2 separate regions of the Homo sapiens genome follow, and region 1 is linked to region 2. Evidence: promoter capture Hi-C in 16 types of primary human blood cells and fetal thymus (Javierre and others, 2016). All regions are on one chromosome and are shown on one strand. The core of a region is centred on a gene start or on the middle of the fragment in contact, and the rest is flanking DNA. Distances in the headings are between cores, read along the strand shown.

The links. Contacts are between HindIII fragments. The CHiCAGO score rates a contact against its expected background, and 5 or more counts as called.
Region 1: a contact is called between a fragment that was not itself captured here and the fragment with the promoter of YTHDC1 in region 2, in 1 of 17 cell types (total B cells). The highest score is 7.4, in total B cells.

The regions. Positions count from the first base shown.
Region 1 is chr4:73,083,253-73,085,952 of GRCh38, forward strand. It overlaps ANKRD17 (ankyrin repeat domain 17), which reads right to left. Exons shown (of 34, transcript NM_032217.5): 30 at 1,997-2,194. Among named protein-coding and RNA genes, the nearest start is that of COX18, 15 kb to the left of the region's middle. The HindIII fragment of the contact is 7,936 bases long and covers 1-2,700 here.
Region 2 is chr4:68,348,721-68,351,420 of GRCh38, forward strand. YTHDC1 (YTH N6-methyladenosine RNA binding protein C1) reads right to left here and starts at 1,370. Exons shown (of 17, transcript NM_001031732.4): 1 at 1,006-1,370. The coding sequence starts at 1,033. RefSeq lists an enhancer at 739-1,318. The HindIII fragment of the contact is 7,711 bases long and covers 1-2,700 here.

The DNA of each region.
Region 1 (2,700 bases), core at 20-2,519, 4.7 Mb after region 2:
TTGGAATAATTGAAGATATCTGAATATGGACTGATTAATTCTTACTGAATTCATGTTAACCTATTAGGTATTTGACAATGGTATCATGGTTGCATAAGAAAATATCCTTATTCTTAAGTGATGCATGTTTTTAGGTCTGAAGTGTCATATCTGCACCTTATTTACAAATGGTTCAGCAAAACAGTAGAGAGAGAAAATAAATATAACAAAATAATTGGGAAATTTAGGCGAAGGAAATATGGATATTCCTTGAACTATTCTTTAACTTTTCTATGGGTCTGAAATTTTTTGTAACAAAATAGTTACTGGAATGTGGCAACAATAAAAGCAATTGTAATGCCCTCAATGATACTCTGTATTTACAATATAGCACTATATTCAAAAGCATGTATTAAAAAACCTAACCTGGGTGGTGTGGTGGTACACGCCTGTAATTCCAGCACTTTGGGAGCTGTGCAAGGATAATTAATATTCTATATGACTGCCACTATTTGACAAACACAAGAAAAACTATGAATATATAAATTCATTGCAGGCTACAATTTACCTCATGCTTTAACTGGCAATGTACTCTGACATGTATCTCTAAAATAATTATAACTCTTTACTCTTTCATTAAGTTAATTAGGTTAACTGTTATTTATTCCAGTATTGCTAGTTAGAAGAAATTTGATAGTTAAAAAAAAAAACAAAACAAAAAAAAAAAAACCGAAGTCTTACTATAACTTCCTTAAGGGATAAGCAATTTCACATCTTTACCTGGAAAACAAACATATCCAACCTTACTACAGAATTCTCTTAGTTGAGTTGAATTCTCTATTGCTGACTGATCTTCATTAGTTTGAAAATCTAGGCCTGGTGGCTCACACCTGTAATCCCAGCAGTTTGGGAAGCCGAGGTGGGCAGATCATGAGATCAGGAGTTTGAGACCAGCCTGGCCAATGTAGTGAAACTGTCTCTACTAAAAATACAAAAATTAGCCAGGTGTGGTAGCACATGCCTGTAGTCCCATTTATTCAGGAGGCTGAGGTGGGAGAATCGCTTGAGCCATTGCACTACAGCCTGGGTGACAGAGTGAGACTCCATTTCAAATAAAAAAAAGAAAGAAAGAAAATCTAATCACTGCTTCAAAAGTCTGCCTGTAGTTAAAAAACACATGTGATAATGTGAAATCTGTTGTGTTGTTAATGCAGATGAGATTTTTTTTTTTTTTTGAGATGAAGTCTTGCTCTGTTGCCCAGGCTGGAGTGCAGTGGTGTGATCTCGGCTCACTGCAACCTCCGCCTCCTGGGTTCAAGCAATTCTCCTGCCTCAGCCTCCCAAGTAGCTGGGATCACAGGTGCACACCACAACGCCTGGCTAATTTTTGTATTTTTAGTAGAGGCAGGGTTTTGCCATGTTGGCCGAGCTGGTCTTGAACTCCTGACCTCAGGTGATCCACCCGCCTTGGCCTACCAAAGTGCTAGGATTACAGGTGTATGCCACTGTGCCCAGCCTAGATGAGATTTAAAGGTGGACTAAAAGGATGTAATTTTCACTCAAGGGTAGAAATCTTTCTCCTTGGTACCTGTATTCTCAAAACTAAAAGTAAACATAAATTAATAACAGGTACAAGGATTAATTTTTTTCCCCCAAAAAATGATCCCTCAGGACAGGTGTGGTGGCTCACACCTGTAATCCCAGCTCTTTGGAAGGCAGGAAGACTGCTTCAGCCCAGGAGTTTGACGAAACCAGCGAGGGCAACACAGTGAGAGCCTGTCTCTAATAAAAATAAAAAATAATAAAAATCCCTCTTAGAAAAACTTCAATATTTTAGGTTTGATAGAACCTAGGTTGATTCTAATCATTTAAATACCTAGAAATTTTTTTGAAATTCCAGACTTCTAAGAGTACAAATTACCTTTTTATGGTATTAAAATTATGATGAGGTTTGAAACCTGCTGTTTTTAAGAAAACATATGCAGATTCTTATGGAATTACGGTGTATAAAACTCACCATTTGATGCTGATGAACACGGAGTCAACAAACTAAGCGGGGAAAAATGTTGTCTGTTAAAGTTAGCAGCTGCGGGTGCTCCTCCAAGGGGTGCCCCAGGTCCGTACATCTGACCTCCTGAAATGTTTGAAGCAAAGTTTCCCAAATGTGTTGAAGAAGGTGTTACAGAACCATATGGCGAGTCCATATTGACAATACCTATAATGTAGAAGGTCATCATAATTTATAATAGTTACTCCTGCAAGAAATAGAGATACCTTAAAATTCTAAAAGGCCCTAAATATATTCAAAACTATTTTAGATAATTAAAAAAATCCCGGCTGGGAGTGGTGGCCCACATCTGTAATCCCAGCACTTTGGGAGGCCAAGGTGGGAGGACTGCTTATGGCCAGGCATTCAAGACTGGTCTGGGCAACACATCGAGACCCCACCTCAAAAAAAAAAAAAAAAAGTTCCTGGCTGGGTGTGGTGGTTCATGCCTATAATCCCAGGCATGAATCTCACTTTGGGGGGCCAAAGTGAGAGGACTGCTTGAACCCAGAGTTCAAGGCCAGGATAGACTGCCTCTACAAAAAATTAAAAAAAAAAAAAAATTAGCCAAGTTTGGTGGTGCGTGTTTGTAGTTCCAGTTACTTGGGAGGCTGAGGTGGGAGGATTGCTTGAGCCCAGGAGGTTAAGGCTGCAATGAGCTGTGATGGCACCAC
Region 2 (2,700 bases), core at 120-2,619:
TCTAGAGCCCACTTAACAACCCCCGACAAAAAAACCCCAAATCAATTAGGCACACAGAAGAGATGTGTGAGACACAGAGCAGCGACCGTGTCATATTTTTAACTATAATCTTTCCAAGACTATTATGTTAATCTTAGGGTTGAAAAAGATCTTAAAGCAGCATTTAATCTAGACCACTCTCCAGAGAGACACTGATCTAGGACCTACATTAATATCTCTAGGGCTTGGGAACTTAGTATTACTATCTTTCCATTACAGCAACGTCAGTTCTCTCTACATTTCACTGAAATTTATCCCTCCAACTCTCTGTAACTTGCATTCATTTGTTTCTGACTGTACCCTCTGGGAGCTACACACGGTTTTTCTAACATAATAGCACCCAGGATTTCTTTGCCAGCCTAAGTCACACAGTCATCTTTCCAAACTAAGTATTCCTTTTTCCAAGTACTATGTTTTTCCAAAATAAGTATTCGAGGAACAAAACGGGTAATTCACTTTGCCTATTTAACAGGAACAGCCAGAAGTTATTTGCAGATATTTCTCAAGATTAATAACCTGCCAGTGCCACTTCCTAAACTTGCTCACTTACCACACCACCAGTGTTGATCGCGGCATTAGGGGTTTTCAAATTTTAGCCTAACAGAAATGGTTGTCCTGAAAATACGCGTTACATCCGCATGATCCTACCAGGAAATAAACCTAGGAGCTTGCAACTCAGAAAGGGCCCCTCTCAGCCCAAGACAGCTAAACGGAAAGTCAAGCGTGAAATCCGCATCAAAGAAAAACCCTACTGAGATGAAGTGCTAGGCCATATGGAGACTGAGGACGAAAGGGCAGGCCTGGTCTCCGCCAGAGTCTAAGTGTCTCGGTGGGGGCCACCGGCTCCTCGCGAGGCCAGCTAACCTCCCCAACCCCCACCCCCCACCCCCAACGACGACCACTGCTCCATCACCCCACTCCCGGGCCCCAGCCTCGCCTCGGCCCGTCATCTTTCTCCGCACTAACCTTTCTCCTCCCGACTGTCAGCCGCCATGGCTCCCCTTCGGTTTCCGCCGCTGCCACCGCCGCCGCCGCTTAGACGCGACTCGCGCGGGCGCCGCAGCCGCGGCAGAAGCACGGGCCCGTCCGTCAGTCCGTCTGCCCGGATACGCGCGTCGCACTTGGCCTCTTAACACTCAGCCTTCTCGACTCTTCCCGCTTTTTCCCTTTCTCCCTTCCTTTCACTCCAGCATCCAGCGGCCTAGGCCCAGCCTTCTCGTTAGGGCTCAGACTCGGGCTAGGTATGGGGGAGGGAAGGGAAACAGATGGCGACGGCGGGCGGCGCTAAAATGGAGCCTGCTTCCTGCGCGAAACAATCCCGCTCCCGAAATGCCCTGCGCTGTTTACGCTTCGTTCCTCTCTGGGAACGTCACAGTGCGGAGAGGGGCGGGGAGGCGGGGACGTGCAAAGGAACGTGACGTGACGTCAGCGCGTCGCCCTGCCGCCCTCAGCCCACTGGTACCTGGAAGGAGTCTTATTCAGGGATTAGGTTACCCAGGTTGTTCATGGAGTTCCCGCTGTACGGCCTATAACTGGATGGCGCAATTTTCCCACCTGAAACTCTTAGTGCAGGGCCTAACAGGCCTTCTTAGCTAGAGTCGCTCTAAAGGACTCCTGATTCAGTTCGGGTAATCGGAGTCTTATTTAGGACAAGTCTGGGTGAATCCCTTATGTTTACCAGATGTACTTTCTTAGTTGGAGTTCCACTCTTACCCAAAGGCAGTGCAGCATGCAACCAGCTTGTTTGTAGTCACAAAAGCCTGCTAGTTTTTGTTTGTTTTGAGACGGAGTCTCGCTCTGTCGCTAGGTTGGAGTGCAGCAGCGCGATCTCGGCTCACCGCAACCTCCGCCTCCCAGGTTCAAGCGATTCTCCTGGCTCTGCCTCCTGAGTAGCTGGGACTACAGGCGCCCGCCACCACGCCCAGTTAATTTTTTTATTTTTAGTAGAGACGGGATTTCACCATGTTGGCCAGGATGAAGTGCTGGGATTACAGGCGTGAGCTACCACGCCCGGCCTAGTTTTGTTTTTAATTGGGGAAAGAATTGTATCATAATAGGTCTTTGTAATTAATAACTAATTTAAACATGTTATCAAGGCCCTGGGGCACAAAATTGATTTAAGCAGACCATCGAGGAATCGAAACTACAGAATAAATGACCAGTAGATACATAACTACATAGTGTGGTAAAATCTGCAAGAGAAACTTGCTTAAGATTCATTGTCCAACGGAAACAATCTAATTTTGCTTCCTTGAACTATAACTGAGTTATAAGGGAAAGAAAAATCTGAAAAAGGTAACTAAGTAACTTCGTGATATGAAGACAAACTGGCAAACTAACTGCATATTCAGGGAAAGACAAGTAGTCTAGAAGTCTAGAATGTGGTACCTCTTTTTTTTTGAGACGTGGTCTCACTGTGACACAGGCTGGAGTGCAGTGGTGTGATCATGGCTCACTGCAACCTTGGGCTCAAGTGATCCTCCCACCTTAACCTCCCAGGTAGCTGGAACTACAGGCATGCTCCACCACATCCGACACATTTTTTGCATTTTTTGTGGAGATATACCATCTCCGCAAGATGGCTAACACCTAGCCATCTTGCCCAGGCTAGTGTCTAAATCCTGGGCTCCAGCAATCCTCCCACCTCGGCCTCCCAAAGTG